4 separate regions of the Homo sapiens genome follow, and regions 2, 3 and 4 are each linked to region 1. The links are contacts of gene promoters, found by promoter capture Hi-C in blood cells and fetal thymus (Javierre and others, 2016). All regions are on one chromosome and are shown on one strand. Each heading gives the region's core, a stretch centred on a gene start or on the middle of the fragment in contact. The rest is flanking DNA. Distances are from core to core; before and after follow the strand shown. Region 1 holds the start of PITRM1 (pitrilysin metallopeptidase 1). Region 2 holds the start of TASOR2 (transcription activation suppressor family member 2). Region 3 overlaps NET1 (neuroepithelial cell transforming 1). Region 4 has its middle 3.3 kb from the start of TUBAL3.

Evidence for each region. Contacts are between HindIII fragments. The CHiCAGO score rates a contact against its expected background, and 5 or more counts as called.
Region 2: the fragment with the promoter of TASOR2 here is called in contact with the fragment with the promoter of PITRM1 in region 1 in 1 of 17 cell types (monocytes); the score reaches 6.8 in monocytes.
Region 3: a contact is called between a fragment that was not itself captured here and the fragment with the promoter of PITRM1 in region 1, in 1 of 17 cell types (monocytes). The highest score is 6.7, in monocytes.
Region 4: a fragment that was not itself captured here is called in contact with the fragment with the promoter of PITRM1 in region 1 in 1 of 17 cell types (monocytes); the score reaches 5.1 in monocytes.

Annotation. Positions count from the first base shown.
Region 1 is chr10:3,170,913-3,174,240 of GRCh38, forward strand. PITRM1 (pitrilysin metallopeptidase 1) reads right to left here and starts at 1,870. Exons shown (of 27, transcript NM_014889.4): 1 at 1,805-1,870. The coding sequence starts at 1,860. RefSeq lists silencers at 1,395-2,234, 2,525-2,684 and an enhancer at 2,883-3,328. The HindIII fragment of the contact is 12,209 bases long and covers 1-3,328 here.
Region 2 is chr10:5,683,207-5,686,534 of GRCh38, forward strand. TASOR2 (transcription activation suppressor family member 2) reads left to right here and starts at 1,632. Exons shown (of 22, transcript NM_001321783.2): 1 at 1,632-1,969. RefSeq lists enhancers at 1,186-1,425, 1,566-1,675, 2,296-2,475 and silencers at 1,726-1,985, 2,026-2,075. The HindIII fragment of the contact is 4,285 bases long and covers 1-3,328 here.
Region 3 is chr10:5,445,653-5,448,980 of GRCh38, forward strand. All of the region lies in intron 3 of NET1 (neuroepithelial cell transforming 1), which reads left to right. Among named protein-coding and RNA genes, the nearest start is that of NET1, 35 kb to the left of the region's middle. RefSeq lists a silencer at 766-995. The HindIII fragment of the contact is 651 bases long and covers 1,347-1,997 here.
Region 4 is chr10:5,406,495-5,409,822 of GRCh38, forward strand. No RefSeq gene overlaps it. Among named protein-coding and RNA genes, the nearest start is that of TUBAL3, 3.3 kb to the left of the region's middle. The HindIII fragment of the contact is 5,363 bases long and covers 1-3,328 here.

The DNA of each region.
Region 1 (3,328 bases), core at 620-3,119:
AGATCACGCCACTGCACTCCAGCCTGGGTGACAGAGCAAGACTGTCGGAAAAAAAAGAAAAAAATGCTGAAGATTGGAAATCCATTCACCTCTTGGTCTCTATCGTCCACACCTTACACTGCGGCCCCAGCACTCACAGACAAAAATGTCAGCACGAACCCTGACAGTCCCAAACTCAACTCACCCGGAGGTGTATCGACAGAGAATGGATAAAGTGCGGACTAATCGTTCAATTAAAAAAAAAAAAAAAAAAAAAAAAAAAAAAAAAAAAACCTTACCAATATAAGGGCCTACAGTGGCATGTAACAAAGATATGGGTCACATAACGTGAAACAAAAGATACACATGATACAGTATTATCCTAAACAGGTATTATTCAAATAGGTAACAAGACATTGTCAGAACGCATAAAAATGGTAAAATATTAAAAAAAAAAAAAGCAAGGACATTTCTGTATGTTATGACCGTGATAATCTAAGAGGGAGGGAGAGAGTTACGAGCAGTTAGGGGAATCTTCAACTTGGTCACAGGGACACTAATTTTCTTTTTTGAGACAGATCTCACTCTGTTGCCCAGGCTGGAGTGCAGCGGTGCAATCTCGACTCACTGCAACCTCCACCTCCCGGGTTCAAGCAATTCTGTCTCAGCCTCCTGAGTGGCTGGGACTACAAGTGCTCACTACTACGCCCAGCTAATTTTTGTATTTTTAGTAGAGACAGTTTCACCATGTCGGCCAGGCTGGTCTTGAACTCCTGACCTCAAGTGGTCTGCCCGCCTTGGCCTCCCAACATGCTGGGATTACAGGTGTGAGCCACCGCGCCCAACCTATTTCTAATAATTATTCTCACCTGAATGAGATGGCTCACACCTGTAACCCCGCAATGCGAGAGGCTGAGGAGGGGGATCAAACCAGCCTGGGAAACAGAGCAAGATCCCTGCTCTTAAAAAACACGTAATTATTATTCTCTCCAATTGTATTATATGTCGTATGGGATTTTCTACATTAATGTATCCCACCGAAATATTTATTTTAAAGATAATATGTACAGGAAGAAAAAACCTATTCAGTCACTGGCAATATTATGAAGATATGCTATAACCAACATTTGCTTACTGATTTAGCAAATTTCAGAATTATGGGACAGAAGCGTTTTAAGAAGTTACTTATCAAGGACATGATAGGAAACTCCTGAGCGGTAAGGCCAGGCCGAACTCATGCCACGGACGCCCCGTGCCTCCCGGCCTGGGCCGGCAGCGCTGAACTATTACCTTATATTAAACACGGGCTCGTGGATTACCATGAACACTAAACTGCTTCGTCATTTTTTTCCCCATAAATTGAGTCATTAAAAAAACAAAACAGTTCAATTCCGGGAGGCGTCAGTTCTCTGAACACAGCGAGACTTTAAGTATGGGCTGTGGGCGCCTCGGGTCTCTTAAGGACTCGGCCTCCCAACAAAAATGAACTAGGAGCAAAGCTGTCAGCGAGAACCGCAAATGCCGACCCCATTTACTACCCCCGTTAAAGCCCACGCTAATGGAGGGCCCCGCCGGGAGCGCCGCGGGCAGGCCCGGCCCCCAGCCCGGGGCATCGCCCCTGGGAGTAGGAAGGAGCTCCGAGGTCCTCCGGCCTCGGAGCCTCGGATGCGGGAGCTCCAGGAAGGGCTCGGGGTGCGGGACGCCCACAGCTTGGGGAGCTGCCAGCCCCGGGCGCAGGGACGAGGACCCCTACGCCTCCGGCCTGCCCTGGACCCTCCCCTCCCGGGTACCAGCGCGCCGAGCGCCTCCCGTCGCAGCGTCTCACCCGCCGCTCAGCCGCCTCAGCACACACAGGCCCTGCCGCCCGCCGCAGCGCCACATTGCGCATGACGAGCACCTGGCTGGCGAGGAACCCCCTCTTAACCCGACGCAGGGCGCGGGGCGGGGCTTGCCGTGACAGCTACCACTCCTATTGGTCAACGCGAACAGCGACGTCCTCTGCGATAGGCTGTAGGTGAAAAGGGTAGGCCTCCACTGCTCTGGGACGGGCGGGAGGGCGGTGCGGACGGAGATGGGCGGGAGGGGCGGGGCCGACGTGCCGAAGGAGGCGGGCAAGGCGAGGGGCGTGGTACGGGTAGAAAGGGGCGGGGCCGTCTTGCCGAAAGGGGCGGGGTTCGGCCAGCAGCAGGATGTGGACAGATGATAGGAGGGGGAAGTGGGCAGGCGAGAAGTGGGGCGTGGCGAGAGGCGTGTGTATGCAGATGAAGTGGGGCCTGGTGAAGGGCGGGGCTGCGCTGGTGAAAAGAGGGGCTCCTGGAATGGCGTGCTGTGTTGGGTGGGGCTGTGCAAGTGATGGGAGGGGCTTAGCGAGGGGTGGCTCTTTGCAGGTGAGGAGTGGAGACCAGTGGGAGAGGGGATTGCAAGTGAGCTGAGCCTTGGGGGCGGGGCTTGCAGGTGACAGGGTGGAGCCTAGTGGGCGGGGATGCAAGTGAGCTGGGCCTTGGGGATGGGGCTTGCAGGCGATGGGGTGGAGCCTGGTGGGGCGGGGCTGCAGGTGAGCTGGGCCTTGGGGGCGGGGCTTGCATGCGAGAGGTGGGTCCTTGTGGGGGCAGGGCTGGCAGAAGTGGGTGGGGCTTGGTGATGGACCGCGGTGTTCAGGTGAGGGTAGTGGCCTGGTTGGGGGCTGCCGGAAGCTGGGCCAGGTGAAACTTGGTAGCCCTCTCTGGCCTTGGTGTGGGCGTTGGTCCTGTTTGTAGGGCTGAGCTGAGCTCCAAAGGCGTTCTGCTGCCCCGCCAGGCCTGAACCTTGGGGTCTGGGGGCTTCTTGGATGAGATCTCAAGGCTGCATGGCAGGTCCCAGGGCCAGGGCCCCACGGTGTCACACGTATCACGGATGGCCGCCAGCGAAGCACAGCACAGCTCCGAGCTGCTGCATGGGAGCCTGTGGCCCCCGCTGCTGCCTCCGCTTTCCTCTTCGTTTCGTGTCTAGGAAGATGCACCTGAGCCCCCTGACATTGCCCAAGTGCCCAAGGGCCCTTCTGGGAACCCCCAGAGAGGCTGAAGGAGGCCCCCGTAGGAGTGGGTGGTTCTGCACTGTGGGCCAGAAGGGGCCCTGGGATTAGCCACGCTTGGAGAGGGTGGGGTAGCCCTTGGAGGAAGTCCGCACCAAGTCTGACCTTCCGGGTTTCTCAGAGCCTCTCTTCCTTCCTCCCTTCACCTTCTCCCTCTTTTTTTCCCCTTGTATCACGAATACAAACAGGCTCAAATCTCCCTCTGTCTCCTAATGGGCTCTGAAAAAAAAAATTAAAAATTAAATGGTAAGTAGATGGCTGCAGTCGGCTTGAACAAGC
Region 2 (3,328 bases), core at 382-2,881, 2.5 Mb after region 1:
ACAGTAAACACAATGACTGAATCTCTTGGTATTACCAGCACAGTGCTTGACTCATGATACATGTTCATTAGCACTTAATCTCTCTCATTGGTACAGTCATATGTCACTTAATGTTTCAGTTAACAACAGACCACATATCCAACAGTGATCTTATATGATTATAATAGAGCTGAAGAGTTCTATTGCCTAGTGATGTCGTAGCCATCTTAATTTCGTACAGCAACACATTACTCATATGTTTGTGGTGATGCTGGTGTAAATGAATCTACTGCACTGCCAGTCATATAAAAGTACAGCACACATGGCCAGGCGCAGTGGCTCCACCGTAATCCCAGCCCCCCAGTGGGACAAAATGGAGGTGAAGACAATGATGTTGATGATCCTGACCCTGTGTAGGCCCAGGTTAATGTGTGTTTGTGTCTTAGTTTTTAACAAAAAAGTTTAAAAAGTAAATTAAAAAAATTTTTAAATAGAAAAAAACTTACAGATTAAGGATATAAAGAAAATATTTGTGTACAATGTGTTTGTTTTAAGCTAAGTGTTATTACAAAAGAGTCTTAAAAAGTTTTTTAAAAGTTTTAAAAAGTTAAAAAGTTACAGTAAGCTAAGGTTAATTATGAAAAAATTTAAAAAAATAAATTCAGTGTAGCTTAGGTGTACAGTGTTTATAAAGTCTACAAGAGTGTACAGTAATGTCCCAGACCTTCACATTCTCATTGCTCACTCACAGACTCACCCAGAGCAACTCCCAGTACTGCAAGGTCCATTCGTGAGAATGCCTTACACAGGTGTACCATTATTTTTCATACTGTATTTTTATTGTACCTTTTCTATGTCTAGATATGCTTATACAAATACTTACCATTGTGTTATAATTGTCCACAGTATTCAGTACAATAACATATAGCATGGGTTTGTAGCCAGGAGTAATGGGCTATGGCTTATGGTGTAAGTATGTAGTAGGTTATGCTTCTAGGTTTCTGTGATGTTCACTCAAGGACCAAATTGCCTAATGAGGCATCTCTCTCATAAGGTGTCCCTACAGTTAAATGATGTTTGCATGACTATTTATCATGGGCAAGGGTAAACCTGAATTTATTGATGGTCACCTTAGCTCTCTGTGCATGTGTTATAAATTTCTAGAGATGCTTTCCTAGGGGGTAACAGCCACACCTACTATATGGATTAAAACAAGGGCAAAATTTCCAAAATGTCGCATTCGGGCCAGACAAATAAACTGTTCTTGCAGCAGCACCTGGGGAATGAAACGCTGAGAAGGGAGAAGGCGCCCGAAGGCGACCACGTGGGCCACAGCCACAGCACTGTAGGTCAGCCGAGAGAGCGTCTCCCGCCTCTTCCCAAGGGCATCTTCCGCCTCCTGTCAAGGGTCGGCAACGCGAGACACCACGCGCTCGTTGGGATCGGCCGCCTAATCAGGAGCGAGCTGTGGCCTTACGCCTGCGCAGAGGGGAGACGCGAGCGCCGCGTGGACGCTGACCTCGGTCCGCGCCTGCGCCTTGGTTTCTTCCCGGCGATTGGTTCCCATCTCTGAGGGAGACGCCTCACTTCAGTTTTCACTTTCTTTTTTTGCCCCCCCCTCCCCTTTTCTTTTCCTTTGGCCGCGAGGTTTTGCTTCCGGTTGCTAGCGCCGGTCAGAGAGAAAGTCGGCATGTTCTCGCAGGCTGCCGGGCGTCCCGGGGTTGCCTCTTGCCCGTGACCCTGACGGGAGACAGAGCGCGGGCGGCCGCGGCGTCCCTGTCAGCGCCCGCGGCGAGGACCCCGGGGCTGGGGCGGACGGCGTGCCCCTGAGGGGGGTCCCCGCGGGAGCGCGGAGCCGGCGACTGGTGCTTCCCACGTGCGCCGGTGTCGCGAGGGCCCGGGAGGACGCAGAGCACGGCCGGGAGAAGCATGGGAAGGAGGCCGAGCCGGGATCTCAGGTCCTCGGGGGCGGCGGCCACGCCAAGGACGGGTAAGTCCCTCCTCGGCCTGGGCGCCCGGGAACCCTGCGAGGAGGACGGCGGGTCCCCGAGGCCGAGCGCTCGGGCAGCTGCCGGGGCTTGGCTGCGAGGGTCGACGCGTTCTCCTTGCCTTTTGCCGCGCTCCGGGTGAGGGGGTGGGAGGGGTCGGCGCCTTCTAGATGACTCAACCTTCTGTCCTGCGCTACAACCTGTGGCCGCGCTCGGTGTCGCCGGCAGGGAGATCCTAACCGTGTCATCTTGCCCCTTTCTGAGGCGTTTCGTTTGCGTCGCCTGTCAGGGGACAGCTGCGTCCTCAGGGATATGCTGATAAGTTCTTGGCTGAAGTTTCCGTCTTCGGGTTTGCACCGGCTGGGAAATCATTTCCTGCGGGTTCTGCGTGAAGCCTGCTGCTACTCGAGACTTCATGGCAATGCGCCACCTTTTCTTTTTAGGGTAAAACAGGTCTCTCCGAAGGGAGGGTCATTTCAGCAGCAAGCGCAAGCCGCGTTGGGATAACTTGGTGCGAGCAACACAGAAGTTTGTCTGAAGGCGGCGCCAAGCAGCGTTTCGTGGGAGAACTGGGTTGATGACTGAAATTTTGAGGAAGATTACTTTGGGAATTCTCAAGTTTCTCTTAGTCGCTTCTTGTCTATTTGAAATCTGTAACTTTAAACAAACCACGCTTACTCTTCCTTATTCTCCCTGTAAGGTACAATTAGAATAGAAAAGTTTATGAAAGTGTATCCAAAACTTAAATATGTGGCGTACAAGTGTATGGTATTATTGGAATGGCATTCGCGATCCTAGAGTCTACAGTGTTCCCTGAATAAAACTAGGGGTGAGCCTGGCGGTAATCCTGCCTAGGAGGTTTATAGCAAAGCAGTGTCCCCTAACGGTGCAAGAATACCCTTCTGTCGAAAAACTGCCTTATAGGAATGGGTGACTGTATGCGGTATGTCCTGTACTGTACATCAATAAATAACTAAGCCAGGCCAGAAAAAGGGTGACAAAAGGTCCACAATTATGTTAAGGAAGACCAAGACGGTATATTTGAAGTTTTGTGTATACAGAACATTTGCCCAAATGTAACTAATTTTTTTAAAGGGAGATTATAAGCATCTCCTGTGGTCCAAACATAGTTGTTAAAATGGGTTAAAATCGGTGAAGTGCCTAAGAACTTGACTGAGACATGGTGTTTGTTAAATACAGTATACTATCTATTCAGTAAAAATAGATCAATATGGCATGTATTTATCAAGTGAATTTCATTTTTCTGTTGGTAGACATTCAAGTTATTTTCAAGATATCCCTATAACTGACAATACTGCAGTGATTATCTCTTGCTGTTATAAACAGTGCTTCAGGTGGTC
Region 3 (3,328 bases), core at 422-2,921, 2.3 Mb after region 1:
GCAGGCCTGCCAAGCCAACAAAAGTAGTGTTGTTCCATAGAGGAAAAGACTTAGGCTAGAAATTTGGAGACTGTCACTGGTCACTGTCATTATTGTCACTTCACCTCTGTTAGCCTCATTTCTTCACCTGTAAAATGCAAGACTTTTTAAGCAGTCTTTTGACCCTGTTCGAGCTATATCAAGATCAGTTAATTCAGTCTAGAGAAGGACCCTGTTATATTATACACTTATATATAATATATACACAATTACATACTATGTATACAATATAGAGAACAGAAATCACCTTTGTTATAAAATATCTAGTACACAGATAATCAAGTTTTTAAAAAGATCCAGAAAAAATATCTACCTCTAAGAAATACTGAATTTTGAAATCTGAAGTAGCCCAGTTTACCCGTAACCTCATGGGAGATTTTCTTCTGGAAGAGAGGTAACAGAAGTGCACCTGCTGTATTTACCCTGCTAGTCTTAAGAAAAAGTGGGAACTATTTAAAGACTTAGATAATCTATTTTATAATTGTGAATATGCTTGCACTTCTGTAAAATAAAAGCAGGTTTCCTGGAAAATTAGGCTTTTCTTCATTATATATGTTGATTCAGCCCTATCGAATAAGAATTTCTATTTCCTTATTTGAGTTGTCAAGTTGTCCATACTGAACTTATTCCCATGCAATAGGGTTTTATGGGAAAAGTCTGCCTGTCTGTGACTAAGCACCAGAGTAGATAACGTAACAATTTGTTTTACTTCGGGAATGCATTTTAAATCAGGAAGAGAAGTTTCTGTCCTACTTGAACCCAGCTTCACTCTCCTCCTGGGCGAAAGCTGAGAGGCCTAGGTGTGCCCAGCTCTCAGTTAACTGAAGTCACGTGGTGGTGGACCCCGCCCCCAGGGCCCGGTTGGCTGTGGCCCCGCCCCCGAGCCCTGGGGTCGGTGCTTGCTGCCTGCGGCTCTCAGAAGCCTCTGCTCCACCGCGGCGAGAGGCATGGGCACGTGGCTGCCGAGGGTGGCCGAGCTCTGGGAAGAAAAGCCCGTGTGCCTCTGCATAGCGTCGCTACAGCGCTGACTCGGTGTGGATTGATTGGAAAGGTTTGAGGGAGTACTTGGGAAGCATGGTGGCACATGATGAGACTGGAGGTCTCCTACCTATTAAAAGGACCATACGAGTCCTAGATGTCAATAACCAGTCCTTCAGAGAACAAGAGGTAAGACTTTAAGAGAAACGTTAGGCAAAAGGAATGTTTTCTAACTCCACGGAGCTTTTAAAATTTTTAACAAGGTATTAACAGTATAATTTTAAACTTTTGATCTTATTATTACAATGTATGTTCTTGATTTATGTGCAAGCTTGAAATGTGTTTAGGGACTGTGGTCTAAGTTTAAATAGTTTATACATAGCATAGCTTGAGTGTACACAGCTTTTATAAAAAAGGAAAAGATTTTAAATGTATATGTTACTCGGGTTACGTTTGTCACATTTCTGATGCTTAATATAATTGTTTTTTTAACTTGAATTGATATCATCCAGTCTTAGAAACTACCTTAATGGAGCAAGAGGAAAAGAATCCCGTTCTTGTAAATCAATGCTAGTGAACAAATTGCAACTAAAGTTTAGTCTGACCTGGTGTGCATTTTTCTTCCATCTGATGAGTTCATTGTATGCCACTTTTTTCTTCAGAAGGAAAGAGGCATGTTAGAATATTTAAACCAGTGACTCATTATTTTTACCCTCCTTGCTTTGTCTGAGTCTTTTTTTAGTCTTTATGAACATTTATCAATATAAATCAAATTACTTTATGCCATTTTATGTAATCTTGATTTAACATTGTGTGATATTCTGTTTATACTATATACTTTAATATATACTACATTGTCACTTATATGCTAGGAATAGTGTTCCTGCATTCAGTTAACTGTGTATCTCTTGATTGTGGTAGTGGTTTCCGTCTCTATACACACGTCAAAACTTATCTAATTGTGCATTTTAAATATGTAAAGCTTACTGAATACCCCAGCAAAGTTGCTTGTCATGTGTACACATACACACACCTTTTGGTAGTTAAAATAGCTGCCGTCTTCAGGAAGTACACTTTTATTTGGTGTGGTTTGGCTTTGGTTTTTGTTCTTGGTTTTGGTCTTTGCCTATGTGTCGGTTTTCTCAAAATGTGTAAGTATTTCCTTTGAGTAGAGCAGTCATCCACAGTCACTAGTGTGAATCCTGCAGCTTATCATCTGTTGGGCCCATAGAAGCTGGCCTTTGTTTAGTATCAGCATGGGCTGTGTTTCTGCCTTACCTTTATTTCTAAGTTACAAGCACTAGGAATGTTGTCACGGTTTTAGATCTAGTGACACAGCTCTAAATAATTTGAGTATTTCTAGAAAAGGAATTCATCCCATGTGATCATAACTCGTTTTTATCTTTTTAAAAATAACTTTTATTTTCTTTTGATTTTAAAGTTTTGCTAAAGATTTTAAGAGAAGATTATTTAACTATTATAACCCAAAGGAATAGACCCAGGTGCATACTATTTTTTTTATTCAGTGTCTTGATATGATTGGTTATAGAAGAGACCCTCCTAAAATATGTTCTCTAACTGGCATCATTAGAAGAAAAAGCCTTTCTACAGAATGCTGACTTCTCAACAGGATTTTTCCATGTCGTTGCAGTTAGCTGTAAGGCATAACCTGAAAAATACTTTAACTTATTCTCAACAATTTTCTGTTTATAGATGTCGAGAAATTTTTAAGGCATAAAATCTAACTACAAGTGGATTACTAACATTAATTAATACCCTGATCTGTGGACAGATTGCCTATAATAATGTATGTGACTGCCTGGCTAACCTAGTCTGATTAAAAATTAACCTAAATTGACAACATAAACTTATGTTAGAGAGTGTTGGACTTTTTTTCCCTCCAAGTGAACTTTAGCCCTGGTGAAAGGTTCCCTGCAGCAGAAAATTCATTGAGCATGTAAAGCTTGTTGGCATTTTTTTGTTTATTCCCATGGATTTTTGGATTTTTTTTTTTTTTTTTGAGGAGAGTAAGGTTCCAGTATTCGTATCTGTTCTTTAAGCTTCTTGAATTTGCCATAACGTGTTTCCAGGACTCCAAAGTAAAAAATAAACAATCCTAGCAGTGGAACTATGGGTGCCTTCCATTTGGTGGTGGTGAGATAGAAAGCGCCTGTTCCACTCCCCCTTCATCACCTCCAAATGCTGTGTCTGGCCTATCTAAATATTGTATTAGGAATCTGTTTTGTGACTGCAAATATTTAGGTTCTTAATAGTCAAATCAAGATTATTAAGATAGTTCATGTGGACCTCT
Region 4 (3,328 bases), core at 389-2,888, 2.2 Mb after region 1:
TACCAATTCTTCCTTACAACTTTGAGAAAATGAAGAAACCATAGTGTTCTTCAGCAATTTTCTCCTGAACTTATTATAAATTATACTTTCTCTCATTTTGATCTTCATAAAGTCAATCCTATCTGTCTCTGTCAATAACTCCCCAAATGTTTAGCATCCTGGTAGTTCCATATAATGAAAAGAAAAATTAAGCCAGTTCCATTTTATAAAATCAGAATGATATTTATTTTGTTGCTGTATCAAATTTTCTCCCACTGGTCCCAGATATTTTCAGTTTGAAACAAGATGAGGGAAAAATCAGATAATGTGAGTATCTCATTTCTAGTCCACTGATGTACTCAGTATCTTTCATTAACTTTTAAAAATTGTCAGTCTGACATGGAGCTATGATTAACTTAGATTTACGTAGGAATTAGAAAGAAACTAGAAAAATCTCTTTTGTAGTATAATTTAAGAAATGCATCTTATCTTTTAGTAATTCCTTATTTCTTTGAAAGACTAAGTCTTAAAGAAAAAAGTTTCCTCAAGTGATAATAATTGGAATTTCACGTCTGAAGAGGCCTTCTGGGGTGATAGTTTTTGTGTCAACTTGGCTAGGCTGTGGCACCCAGTTATCCAATCTAACACTAGTCTGGGTATTGCTGTGCAGGCATTGTGGAGGTGTGGTGAACATCTCCAGTAAACTTTGACTTTAAGTAAAGGACATCATCCTCAATAATGTGAGTGGGCCTCATCCAATCAGTTGAAAGACCATAAGAGTAAAATGGAGATTTCTCTGAGGAAGAAATTTCTCCTAAGGATGGCACCTTTAGTTTCAGCTTTAGCTGTTACTCAGGAGTTTCCAGCCTGCCAGTCTGCCAGCCTGCCCTACTGATTCCAGACTTTACAGCCCCACAATCACACTAACTTATTCCTTAAAATAAATCACACACACAATACTGACTCTGACATACTTGGTGGCCACCCTTAGGTTCTGAGGGTGAAAAAATGGCAGAGTGATAAAAGTGTGGTATTTATAGTTACGATGTCCTTGTTCAAAGTTCCTTTCTTGGCCAGGCACAGTGGCTCATGCCTGTAATCGCAGCACTTTGGGAGGCCAAGGTGGGCAGATCACCTGAGGTCAGGAGTTCAAGACCAGCCTGGCCAATGTGGTGAAACCCCATCTCTACTAAAAATACAAAAAATTAGCCGGGTGTGGTGGCAGGCACCTGTAATACCAGCTACTCTGGAGGCTGAAGCAGGAGAATCACTTGAACCCTGGAGGCGGAGGTTACAGTGAACCAAGGTCACGCCATTGCACTCCAGCCTGGGCAACAAGAGCAAAACTCCATCTCAAAAAAAAAAAAAAGTTCCTTTCTTAAGTATTTTTCATTGTGAGCCAGTCAATTCACTGGCCAAGTAATGAGACAAACAAAACCTTCTAAGCATGAAAATTTGTTACAAAAAAAAAAAATTATTCAACTCTGAGCAATAATTCTGATTGACATTCTGACATTTCTGAAGTTCTCTTTGGTAATTCTCTGTTGGCAGCCTCACAACCACAGCCAGATCACTGTCCTTTGCCATTCTCTCTGGCCCCTACCATTGCACTGAAACCCCTTTCTCCTTCCTCCTCTGTTCTCCTCTCCTACTACTAATATAAATCAGTCTTTTAGACCTGCAATGTCTTTAGGAAGATAGTCTAAGCGTTAAGAAAAATGAATTACAGTCTACTTTGGATTAATAGCACCTTCTCTGGCCACACATATTTCATCTCAAATTTTATTGTTCTCTAAGCTCAACAGCTAGATTTTGGAGTTTTCCATTTTCCTCATTGGAATACCTAAGAGTAAACCAATATGGTAAACAAATGATTCATAGATGATTGATTGATTGATTGACTGATTGAGGCAAAAAATGAAACAACCTCCCCCCACATCACACATACACACACAGTGATAGATTTTAAGGGATGACAAACCTGATTTCAAATATTCTGCCCTATTGTGCCTATAAGTACACTTCTGCTTGTCAGAATGACAATCAATGCAGTCCACATACTTAGCTGTTGGACTACACTCCCTTTCATTTGGCAGGAACAATTAAGTTTGACCCAATTAAAAATTACAGTCTAATAAACAGTTTTGTAAATTAATCAATAGTAGATATAGTAAATATATTTTTAAAAATTTCAGACTTTATTATAACATTCTATATATAAATTATATGTATATGCACACATACAGACATTCATTCTCCTGAATGTAATTGCTGTTAGTTCATGAGAAGCTATGAGAAGATTCAGACAAAAAAGAAAAACGTTGATGCAAAGGGCAATTCTCTAGTTATTAAGACTACTAGTTTTCTAATGGTAGGTCATTGTTTGCAAATTTGCTACATTTTTCTATGGGAGCCTACAGACCAAAGGGGAATCATTTAGCTAGTGATAGCAATGGCAAACAAAATATCACATCAAAATCATCAAATAATTTGGAAATTAATAAAGTGTTTTGATGAACACTTTGTACTCTAATATATACATATATATATATATATATATATAAAACTTGGTAAGCAGTTTTGCAAAAATAGTTTGATTTACTTAGATAATGAAAGAAAATAGGTTTTTAAATTATTGATTTACATAATAATTTACATTCATTTATTGATTGTTGAATTTATTTAATATCAACTTGCAAAATGATTGGTGTCATCACATAGGGCTGAAGGTTTTGGAAATAATCTTTGAGGAAGTTCCCCAAAAGAATATTTGTTTTGCAAATCCATGGTTGAAAAAGTTTGGGTTACACTTTGCTCTAGTCAAGTTAGTAGGAATATCTTCTCAGAGAGGGAGTTCTAGAGTCTGATTTTATATATATGAAAGCTGAAATCAAAACAATTTCCTCAAACCCTATCCCGGTGAATATTTTAAGGGAGAAGGATGATTTGTGGGGAACTGAAAGAGAGAGGATTCAGAGAACATTTGTCATGGTTTTGGGACTGTTCTATACAGTGTAAGACATAGAACATGGGGACAATGGCATTCAGACACCAGAAAGTTGATCTCTTGTAAGATCAAGAGATGTCACCAGCCTTTCCCAGGTCTTCAATGACCAACCCTCAGAGCGGTCACTTTTCTTTGCTCTTCTTCTATGGTACCCAGCCATTTTCTGATGAAAATTTGTCTTCTATTCCTTATTTCCCTAATGTCTAGCACAGATCCTGGCATATTATAGCAGGAATTTAATAAATTCTTGTGAATAATTGAACAAAATCATAAGTTCTCAAGTGAATGAAAATTGGAAACAGTTGCTCTGCATAAAACAATAGTATTCAGGTCACTGGAAAG